Linked DNA regions of Homo sapiens: all the other regions are linked to region 2. The links are contacts of gene promoters, found by promoter capture Hi-C in human tissues and cell types (Jung and others, 2019). All regions are on one chromosome and are shown on one strand. The core of a region is centred on a gene start or on the middle of the fragment in contact, and the rest is flanking DNA. Distances in the headings are between cores, read along the strand shown.

The links. Contacts are between HindIII fragments. The study calls those that stand out against the background at their distance.
Region 1: a fragment that was not itself captured here is called in contact with the fragment with the promoter of MTA1 in region 2 in 1 of the 25 tissues and cell types used here (mesendoderm cells).
Region 3: a fragment that was not itself captured here is called in contact with the fragment with the promoter of MTA1 in region 2 in 1 of the 25 tissues and cell types used here (lymphoblastoid cells).
Region 4: a contact is called between the fragment with the promoter of PLD4 here and the fragment with the promoter of MTA1 in region 2, in 3 of the 25 tissues and cell types used here (H1 embryonic stem cells, heart right ventricle and neural progenitor cells).

Annotation. Positions count from the first base shown.
Region 1 is chr14:105,003,778-105,006,477 of GRCh38, reverse strand. No RefSeq gene overlaps it. Among named protein-coding and RNA genes, the nearest start is that of CDCA4, 16 kb to the left of the region's middle. The HindIII fragment of the contact is 8,903 bases long and covers 1-2,700 here.
Region 2 is chr14:105,418,527-105,421,226 of GRCh38, reverse strand. It overlaps MTA1 (metastasis associated 1), which reads right to left and starts at 1,400. Exons shown (of 21, transcript NM_004689.4): 1 at 1,164-1,400. The coding sequence starts at 1,191. It overlaps MTA1-DT (MTA1 divergent transcript), which reads left to right and starts at 1,488. Exons shown (of 2, transcript NR_125385.1): 1 at 1,488-2,205. RefSeq lists silencers at 1,307-1,566, 1,657-1,706, 1,737-1,836 and an enhancer at 2,534-2,700. The HindIII fragment of the contact is 32,458 bases long and covers 1-2,700 here.
Region 3 is chr14:105,114,362-105,117,163 of GRCh38, reverse strand. No RefSeq gene overlaps it. Among named protein-coding and RNA genes, the nearest start is that of LINC02298, 22 kb to the right of the region's middle. The HindIII fragment of the contact is 7,874 bases long and covers 1-2,802 here.
Region 4 is chr14:104,923,473-104,926,172 of GRCh38, reverse strand. It overlaps PLD4 (phospholipase D family member 4), which reads right to left and starts at 1,294. Exons shown (of 11, transcript NM_138790.5): 1 at 1,183-1,294. RefSeq lists enhancers at 460-969, 952-1,121. The HindIII fragment of the contact is 18,191 bases long and covers 1-2,700 here.

The DNA of each region.
Region 1 (2,700 bases), core at 64-2,563, 410 kb after region 2:
CCGCTGGGGTCAGAGAAGGGGCGTTCCAGGACCCTACAAAGAGCTGGGCAGGCCTGGGGACAGAGGGCACTGTGGTGCTGGGCCCCAGGAGGGGCTGCCCCACCAATGACCCCACCAGTGATAAAGCTGGGCAGCCTGCAGGGCAAGAGCCAGGTGGGGTGCGTGCTGCCCACAAGCTGAAGATCGGGTCCCAGGAAGCTCTCCCAGGGGCTCTGCCGTCTTCACCCTGTTCTTCCCACCTTGGCTGGTGGCCTGGCCTGTGACAGCTGTGCTGGACCCAGGCACCCAGCAGGACCAGCCACCCACTGAGGGGCAGGAGAACAAGAAGGGGCACTACCCAGCTCTGAGAGCTCAGTTGGGGCGGTGCCTCTGCCTCCCGACCCTGGCCAGAGGCCCAGCCCGTCCTGGGGACTGGCTGTACCAAGTCAGCCTAAGCCCAGTCCCACGGTGAGACACAGGCGGAAAGGTGCTGCCTCCATCCTGGCTGCCTGCTGTGGGGACTGGCTGGGTGGTGTAGGAGGGTGTGCACGTGTGTGTGCACCTACACGTATGTGCATGCGCAGCTGGAGGGGGTGCTGGGGGTGAGGGCCGGGGAAGTGGTCAGATCCCAGCCTGTTGGAAGATCCTGGTTTGTGATCCTGTCCCTGTGACCACGGGGCCACCACTCCCGCAGAGCTGCTCAGCCGTGCTCACACTGGGTGCGGCTGCGAGGAGCACGGGCCGTGCATTTTCCTCCTCGCCCGTGGGCCTGGCCAGCCTGGTGCTGAGGGTCACTGGGGACTGGGAGGGTCCCCAGGAGGCCACAACCCCTGCCACCACCCCAAACACTTGGCCCTCGACTGTGGCCTCATGGTTCCCCATGCTTCGCCTTCTGGATGCAAGTTGAGGGCCAGGCAGAGCTCCCAGCCAGAGGTAGAGGTGCTGTCCCGAAGCAGGCAGGCTTGCCTGGAACAGTTCACACACCTGGAGCCCGAGCTGGGAAGCAGGACACTGAGCCCCCGGGCCTGCTGCCTGGGCTGACCAGGTGTTAGCACTGTTCATCCTTTTTTTTTTTTTAATTTGAGACAGAGTCTCTTACTCTGTCGCCTAGGCTGGAGTGCAGTGGCGCAATCTTGGCTCACTGTAACGTCTACCTCCTAGGTTCAAGCGATTCTCTTGCCTCAGCCTCCCGAGTAGCTTGGGTTACAGGCGCCCACCACCACGCCCGGCTAATTATTTTTAGTAGAGACGGGATTTCGCCATGTTGGCCAGGCTGGTCTCAGACTCCTGACCTCAAGTGATCCGCCCGCCTTGGCCTCCCAAAGTGCTGGGATTACAGGCATGAGCCAGCGCACCTGGCCTTTTTGAGTTTCTGAAAGAATTTTAAAACAAATCCCAGATGTTGAGACATTTTGACCCTAAAAACACGTTAAACTTCTTTCCTTTTTTTTTTTTTTGAGACTGAGTCTCCCTCCGTCACCTAGGCTGGAGTGCAGTGGCATGTGATCTTGACTCACTGCAACCTCTGCCTCCCCGGTACGATCAATTCTCCTGCCTCCGCCTCCTGAGTAGCTGGGACTACAGGCCTGTGCCACCATGCCCAGCTAATTTTTCTATTATTAGTACAGACAGGGTTTCACCATGTTGGCCAGGCTGGTTGGTCTTGAACTCCTGACCTCGTGATCCGCTCGCCTCGGCCTCCCAAAGTGCTGGGATTACAGGTGTGAGCCACCATGCCTGGCCAGGTTAAACTTTTTTAAAAAGACTTTTGTTTATTTATTTTTTGAGGCGGAGTTTCGCTCTTGTCGCCCAGGCTGGAGTGCAGTGGCGCGATCTCAGCTCACTGCAACTTCTGTCTCCCGGGTTCAAGCAATTCTCCTGCCTCAGCCTCCCAAGTACCTGGGATTACAGGTGCCCGCTACCATGCCCAGCTAATTTTTTGTATTTTTAGTAGAGGCGGGGTTTCAACATGTTGGCTAGGCTGATCTCAAACTCCTGACCTCAGGTGATCCTCTTGCTTTGACCTCCCAAAGTGCTGGTATTACAGGTGTGAGCCAATGCGCCCAGCCAAAAAAGACATTTTCTTACACAACCACAATACCATTGTGAAAGAAAAATACAATTTCAGGGCCCCCAAATTCACTAGGCCAAAGGGAAAAATTAAGCTGGAAACTGACTCATTCAAGAAACCGCCTTTTTGTTTCTGAGCAAACAGCTGCAGGTAGAAGGCCACAGGCCTCCACAGGCAGCTGCGCTTGTCTGCTGTAGCTTATGAAAGCACAATTTGCTGAGCGAGACGATTGCGTGACGAACCTGGGAGGCAGAGGCTGCAGTGAGCCAAGATCGTGCCACTGCACTCCAGCCTGGGCAACAGGGCAAGACTCTGTCTCATAAAATATGTGTATATATTGAAGTCCCCAAATCTTGCTCTCTTTGGAAAAAGCACAGATCACAGACTGTTCCTGTGGTTTTGTGTTTCTTTTTCCTGGGCTCTGGCAAAATAAACCTCTGACTTGATTGAGAGCTGCCTCAGATGCTTTTTGGTTTACACCATATTGTAACTGGAAAATTAGGGAGAATTCTTTAATATCTAACACCTGCTTCATAGTCAAATGTCTGATTTTCTCCCTAAATTGTCCTTTTTTTTTTTTTTTTTTTTTTTGAGATGGAGTCTTGCTGTCGCCCAGGCTGGAGTGCAGTGGCGCGATCTCCGCTCACTGC
Region 2 (2,700 bases), core at 151-2,650:
CTGCCGCTGGATGGGGTACAGGCCCACCGCCCCTCTGAGAGGACAGGGGAGGCCCAGAGCTGCTGATGCGGACTGACCGCCCATCTCACAGACGGGATGTAGGGGGCTCCCACCGTCCCCAAGGTCACAGGACTGGCCGGCCAGACCACACGGCGTCCAAGGCAGCAGAAGCCACGCTCGAGAGACACAGAGTGTTCTGGGCACTCGGGGTCAGGGGCATGGGGATCAAGCCAGAGCGGGAGTGACCCCAGCTCCCTCCAGCAGCGCAGGCTGCAGGTGGGAAAGGTAATGAGCACCTGCCCGAGAGGGTCACAGGCAGGGAGGGGTCTCAGAGTCCTGGGGAGGGAGGCGCTGATGGAATGATGGAATGCACACGACCCCCCACCTTCCTGTGAAAGACCCCACGGAGTCCCAGGCACACGAAGGAGGGCAAGGCTCAAAGCTGCAGGCCCGGGGGGCCCGAGCAACAGGAGGCTGGGCCCACGGAGGAAGCCCCTGCCCAGGAGGCCCTCCGGCCTCTCCCCAACCCTTGCAAAGCGCCTCCCGAATGGGCTGAGGTGAGCGAGAGGCAGGGAAAAGTTTGGGGGGACTTAGAGGCGTGCTCGGGATGCTCGCTCCCTGCTGAAGACCCCCTGAGGGATCCCTGCTGGGGGAAGCCCCGGGGCCAGGCTGCAGGAGGGCTCTAGGGAGGAACGTGGCCCCTCACCGGGGCTCCCCATCCCCAGAGGGGATGCACCGGAGTCCCAGCACAGGGCCGCGGGCCGGGGGAGACCCCACAGCCCCAAAACTCCTGCTCCCAGACCGGCAGCCGGCGCCTCCCAAGGCCACGTGCTCCCGCTGGGGGCTCCCGGCCCCGGACCCCCGGATGTCCCGCAGGCCCCGCGCCCCCCCGCCACCCCCGCGGCCGCCCCCTCGGCCCCAACAGGTGGGCCGCCCCCCACCCCCGGGCCGCCGAGCCCCGCCCGCCCCCGATGGGGCCGACCCGCGGGGCCATTTTGGGTTGGGGTGAGCACGGCGGGGGGCGGTTCGGGAAGGAGCCGGGGGCCGCGAGGGCGGGCGGGGGGCGCGGGGCCTGCGGGGCAGAGGGGCGGGGGAGGCGGCAGCGGCGGCGGGTGGGGGCTGCGGGCGGGTCGGGGCCGGGCATAAAGGCGGTGCGGCCTTACCTCCGACCCTGTACATGTTGGCGGCCATGTCCGGGCCGGCGGCGGCGGAGGGGCCCGGGGCGGGCGCGGCGCTCGGCGCGGGCGGCCGGGAAAATGGAGGCGCGATGGCGGGGGCGGGGGGCGCCGCAGGCGTTTAAAGGGGCCGCGCTGCTGCCGCCGCCGCCGCCGCCGCCGCCGCCGAGGCCGCCGAGGCCGCGCAGGGACGGGAGGGCCGCGGCGCGGGCGGGAGAGGAAGAGGAGGAGCGGCCGCGGGCGGCGGGGAGGGGCCTCGGGCGCCGCCGCCCACCGCACGGGCCGTTACCGACCCCGCGCCGCCCGCGGCCCGCGCGCCCCTTCCCGGACAGTTCCTCTCGGCGCCCCCGAGTCCTCCCCGCGCGCCGCTTCCCGGGTGGGCCCTTCCACCAGAACCCCCTGGTAGATCCTCCCCTGGTGCCCTGGGGGTAGAGGGGAGATCCTCCACAAGGGCCATTTCCCTGGTGATCCCTCCCTGTGCCCCACAGGTGAGTCCTGCCGTAGCTCTCCAGGGGTTCCTCCTGATGCTGGGGTCCTCCGGCATTCCTCCCTGAGCCCCCCAAGGGCCCTGAAGCTCAGCGGCCCAGCCCTGGCCTCGGGGTCCCCACCCCACACCTCCCTTCCAGGCCTAACCTTTGCCCCCGACACCAGGCAGGGCGTGTCCTTGGCCTTCGCCGCCCAGCCCGCGTGGCATCTCTGGACAGGTGGTCGTGCGCGCCTTGGTGTGGGCAGGCTCCGTAGCCGGCAAAGCCTCCCTGAACCGTGACCTGGTGAGAAGGCCGCAGAGGAGGTGCCTGTGCCCAGAGGCCACCTCCAAAGACCCCACCTGAGGCTGGAACCCAGCGCCTGCTGACCCCGCCAGCCCCAACAGGGCTGGAGTCCAGGAGCGGCCGTGCTCTTTCCGCAGTGAGGCAGCTGCCTTCTCTTCCCACCACCTGTCAGGATGCCTTCCCGTGTGTGCTTGTGCACAGGTCTAAGGAGAGGAGAGTCCAGTGAGTGACCCAGACGCCCCAGCCAGGAAGAGCATGAGGTGCGAAGGGGGCTTCCCAGATGGAGAGAAACAGATGGTCCCAGAGTGGCTTGGAGACAGGTGCAACATCAGTGTTGGGGGAGGTGAGCAAAAGGAGCTGTCTCGGGGTTCCAGGCTGCTGATGTGAGCAGCACCGTGGGTCTCTGTCCTGCCTGCTCAGATGCTGGAGGGAGCTGACATCTACTTGGGACATCCCTCTCTGTAGGACATGGAGCGGAGCGTTCAGGGCTATCAGGAGGGAGCCCCGTGGCCACGGTGCAAGATCTAGGCAGGCGGGACAGACATGGTCAGGATGCTGGGGACACAGCATGGGGAATCCAGCACACAGGACACCATCCAGGTGGGTAGGAAACAGCATGTGCTGGGAGGAAAGCCAGGTGGGGGTCCCAAGGAGAGCGGTGGCCACAATGTCATGGCTGCAGAGCAGACCAGTAAGGAAAGCCCCACCAGGGTTAGCACAGGGCCAGGAACCCGAGCTGCAGGGCGGTGCTGTCT
Region 3 (2,802 bases), core at 11-2,510, 300 kb after region 2:
GTGAGAATCAGGGCATGGACTGGGAAGGTGTTGGACCCCAGAATCAGGAGGGGGGCGATGAGCTGCATACCCTGACAATCACACCAAGAGAAGTAGCCCCTGTTTGATGGGTCTGGTCCTGCATTGTTTGAAGACCTCTCTGTGACCTCACCTGATGTGGTTACTTTGCAAGCAGGTGCTGATTTCCATCCCACTCCACCACTACCAACCTCACCACTTCCAAACCTGCAATTACAATCAGATCCCGGCATGTCCCAGGGGTATCAGCACAAACCTAATTTGGGAAAAGAAGGCTTACACATCAAAAGGTTTGCAAGATTTGTCATTTATATTGTTAGAAGACTGGGGGTGTGTGTGTGGGGGTGGGTGGCTTCTGCAAACACTAGACCTGGGAGGGAAGCACAAACTTAAAGATTAGAGTCTGTTGAGCTGTGTGCATTTACAAGAGATTCTGAATTCAATATTTTTAGTTCAAGAAGCTGGAAGTGGCCGGGCGTGGGGGCTCATGCCTGTAATCCCAGCACTTTGGGAGTCCGAGGTAGGCGGATCACGAGGTCAGGAGATTGAGACCATCGTGGCTAACACAGTGAAACCCTGTCTCTACTAAATATACAAAAAATTAGCCGGGCATGGTGGCGGGCACCTGTAGCCCCAGCTACACAGGAGGCTGAGCCAGGAGAATGGTGTGAACCCGGGAGGTGGAGCTTGCAGTGAGTGGAGATTGCGCCACTGCACTCCAGCCTGGGCGACAGAGCAAGACTCCATCTCAAAAAAAAAAAAAAAAAAAGAAAAAGCTGGAAGTGTCTCTAACATTTTTCTTCGTTGGTTGATTGAAGCCTGAGCTCCAGAGTCACCTCCATCATTGGAGGCTGAGCCGCTGAAGTGCCTTGGCATGACATAGAGGAAGGAGTGCAAAGTGAGGAGAGAGGCACTCATCCCCTGACTCTCCCCATGAAGACCCTGAGGAAAAGCCCCTCACCACGGCCTGGGAAATAGGCAGGAGAGCAAATGCTGGCATTTGGGCCAGTCCCGAGGCTGTCCTCCACAGGTGGGAGTGAGAGAGGGAGATGCTGCTGTCAAAACGGCTCCCTGCCTGCCATGGGGATGATGGGCGACCACATCCCAAAGGGTCAGATCGTAAAGACAGAAGCAAAAATGAACGGACTCAGGTTGGTTAGAACAAATAAGTAAGTCTAGGAGCTAATTATTTGGGGATGAAATCAAAATAAAATAGAAAAGCAATGAGAAAACCCAATCAAGGAGAGAAAAGAGGCACTTGCCCTCCACGTCGCCCGCCTGGCCCTCTTCCAAGTGCACTTTCCTTCCTTTCCTTCCTGCTCTAAAACTTTTTAATGAACCTTTGCCTCTGCTCTGAAACTGGCCTCGGTCTCTCCTTCTGCCTTGTGCCCCACAGTCAAATTCTTTCTTCTGAGGAGGCAAGAATTGAGGTTGCTGCAGACCCCTACAGACTCACCACCGGTAGCTCGGATTCCTGCCACCAATAGCATATGTTGGTGCTCTGTGACTTGGGTAACTTCTGCTGTTAACATACTTTGCTGCGTGACTCCAATATGTTCCCTAGTGGTAAGAGGCCTCTATGCCTCACCTTCTTCTGCTAGAGGCATTCAACCCCCATACGCAGTTTTCTTCTCCTCTTTCTCCTGCTTACTAACCAAACCCCAGAACAATTCCTCTTGGCCATAAGTGACTCTGCTCCCCTGGCTGATTTCTCAGCTCACCCTGGCAGGTGGCTTGCCAGGGTGGAAAGGATCTTAAGGTCCTCACCAAGCAGATTGGAGGTTAGAATTTGGCCCTCCTGGGCAGGAGGCTCTCGACAGTGGTGAGGCTAAGGCCTAAACCCATGCAATGTCTGGGGTTTCCTCTGCTTTTTCAACAAAAACCAGCTCTTTTCCCAAAAACCTGCACTGCCCATTCTCCTAATTTCTCTTTGTGTTCTGAAAGGGCCTTCAGCACCCAGGCGGACCATCTACCTCTGCTTCCACCCCGTGTGCCACGTGACTTCTTAAACACACTCCCTGGCCGGGCGTGTTGGCTCATGCCTGTAATCCCAGCACTTTGGTAGGCCTAGGCAGGCAGATCACGAGGTCAGGAGATGGAGACCATCCTGGCCAACATGGTGAAACTCCGTCTCTACTAAAAACACAAAAATTAGCCAGGCGTGGCAGTGGGCACCTGTAGTCCCAGCTACTCGGGAGGCTGAGGCAGGAGAATGGCGTGAACCCGGGAGGCGGAGCTTGCAGTGAGCCAAGATCGCACCACTGCCCTCCAGCCTGGGCGACAGAGCGAGACTCCGTCTCAAAAAAACCAAAACAAACAAAAAAAAACACACACTCCCTCCTTTGGTCCCATCCCTCCTTCTGACCTCCCAACTTGGCCATGCATTCGCGTGCTCGCGGCTCTTGCTGTGTTTGTGGGGCAGCAGAGACATGGGTTCCCGTGCAGACATCCCCTGAGAGTCACGCTTATTTTTTTAAAAAAAAGAAGAGAAAGTTGAAATATACAACAAGAAGAAAATAATCCCAGATATCAAAAAGATTGTTTACATTACAAGAGCACATTTTGATGAACACCAAGCAAATAAATCAGGCCTTGGTTACGACATTATTCTTACAGAAAATATTATAATGAATGATTATAATAATATTATAGCAGATCTCTGAAGAGATTTAAAAATCTAAGCACACGAAGTGATGCAGACCATTTTTAAAATGTGAACCTTTTATTTATTATTATTTTTTGAGACAGAGTCTTGCTCTATAATCCAGGCTGGAGTGCAGTGGT
Region 4 (2,700 bases), core at 45-2,544, 490 kb after region 2:
CCTGGGCAGTGCTGAGTGCCAGTGTCTGCAGCCAGGCTGGGCGCTGGGACCCAGGGCTCGGTGGGTCGGCTGTCCACCCAGGAGCAGCCAGCTCAGCCTCCAGGCCTCTGGGGTTCGTCTGGGCTGTCCTCCCACGGGTCAGGGCTGAGGGCTTTGAGAACCTGGCCTGCCTCAGCATGGGGCGGAAATGCCAGGAACACCACAGGAGTCGGGCCTGGACTGAGTCTGCCCTGGAGACCAAGCGTTATGGGGGATTGGGGGTAGGAGCATAAACCAAGTGTGGGGACAGGGGACTCAGGCCAAGTCACTGCGGCCCAACTCCCCCCACGCTGGGGGGTCCTGCAGAGGTGGGTGGGTGCCGCCCCCACCCCAGAGCTGAACTCTGGGGGATGCTCCCCCCACCCCACAGAGGAGACCTCAGGGTGCCCACCGTGTCCCCACTGTCCCCAGGGATTCAGGGCCCAGCATCGGGCCTTTGCTCTCCCCCACTAACTCTCAGAAGAGGAAACATGGAATCCTGGGCTGTGGCTGGTCAATGAGAGGAAACATGGAATCCTGGGCTGTGGCTGGGCAACGAGGTGCCAGGGCTGTTCTTGGACAGCTGCTCCCCACACTCCCTGCCCTCACCAGAGAGGACCTTTGCTCCCTTAAATGCTCCAGGCAGACGGGCAGCTCAGAGCACAGAGGCGCTGCCTCTTGCAGGCCCCATCTCAGACTTGGAGCCTGTCCAAGTCCCCTCCCAGGACTACAGACCCCAGAGCGCCTCACCACCTCCTCCTGCAATGGAACCTGGGAGGACCGCCAGCCAGGTTGGCTCAAGCTGAGAGACCCCTGCAGAGTAGGGCTGTAGCCCCCTGGTCCCATGGTAGATAGCGTAAGACCCTGCAGACATCAGAGGTCATGGCTGAAGGTGCCAGATTTCCTGCCCTGCAGGGCATTAGGCATGGCTGCCAGTCCCAGGCTGAGGTAGAGGGCCCAGCTGTCACCTGGCTGGAGAGCCAGGGCCCAGCTTATCCCAGCTGCACGGACTGGGGACGGAGCGAGTCATCTACAGGACTAGCTGGAGGCTGTGTGACTCTCTGGACCTGGGGTTGCTGGGAGGCTGAGGCCATAGGGAGGCAGACAGCAGCCCTTTCCCCATGCCTGGCTTTTCTCAGCTGCCCTGGCCTCATTGGCACATACCTCTGGGGGTCCTGCCTTGGTGTCTATCCTGATTCCAGCCGCAGACTGCAGGCCCTCAGCTCACGGGGCAGGCTCGGTGCTGCCTGTGCTCCACACCAACCTCCTCTTCTCTGCAGCTCACCTCCTCCTCTCTGCAGCTGGCTCCTTCCCCTTCCAGCTACTTCCTCTTTGTCCTGAGAGGCCCCCTCTCATCTGAGACAGAAACAGACGGCTGGAGCTGGGTGGGCGGGCTAGAGGGTAGGGCTGAGAACCTTCACCTCCAGGAAAAATCTACACCCCACTCCCTCGAGGTAGAGGCCCTCCAGTTGCGGGCCTACGAATCGGAGTCAAGTTCAGCTGCAGGCCACAGACACCTAAGGAACAGTGGCTTCAGCAAGGTTGTTCATTACTCTCGAACACTAAGCAGGTCCAGGGGCTGGCAGGCTAGAGACGGCCTTGCTAGAGATGATGGCATTGCTCCACTGCCATTGGGAGCCAGGCTCTCAGATCCCAGTCCCTAGGATCCCTGCCTTCATGGCCTCACAGTGGCTGCTGGAACTCAGCCATTGCCTCTGTGTTCTTAGCAGAGAATAAGGGACATCCCAGAGGAGACTTCCTGGAAGTCCCACAGGGCACTTCCACTTATCTGTGATCTGGAACTTGATCTAGAACTTAGTCACATGGCTACACTTAGCTGCAAGGGAGGCTGAGCAATGGAGGTAACTAGGGTCTTTATCTTGGAGAACGAAGCTGGGGCTGCTCACTGGCATATCTGAAAAGGTGGGCCTGGCTAGAAGCTCCTAGCAAGGGGCTCTGCCTCCCACTGCCCCACCCCCCGACTGGGGTCCCTGAGTAAGGTCTGGGACCTTGAGAACACTCCTACTTTCAATGAGGTCTGGGTGTCCACCCTGGCTCCTCCTTGTAAGGCCTATGTAGGGCAGGGGTCCAGGGTGATGGCCTCAGGGTGCCTGCAGGACACCAGTCAGGAGGGTGCAGTTCCCAAGGGTGGGGCCTGTCAGCTGCACCCCTGGGGCCAGTCTGGGTGGGCCAGGAAGTGAATGGGGAAGAGATCCATCCTCTCCCTAGCCCCTCCCAGATCTCTCTTCACCTTCCTGATGCTCTGATTTGGCCTTGGGTTCAGCCCTTACCTCCCGGCCATGGTTGGGGAGCCCCAGCCCTCTGGCTGGGTTGCTGGATGCCTGAATGCAGCTGGGCCCCAGGCATGCCCCCGAGGGTTGGGTCCTCCAGGGACTCTGGGTGAGGGTTACTCTGGGTATGGGGAGGGGCAGCCAGGTGGGTCCTGCTGTGACATTTGCAGGGCTGGGGCATGAGTATGAAGGGAGGCTGCCTTCCCTGCACTCAAGCAAAAGGCAGTTAGACAGAACAGGTTCTCTTCTGTCTTTTTTTTTTTCTTTTTCCTTTGAGAGAAGTCTCGCTCTTGTACCCCAGGTTTGAGTGCAACGGCTTTATCTCGGCTCACTGCAACTTCTGCCTCCCGAGTTCATACGATTCTCCTGCCTCTGTCTCCCAAGTAGCTGG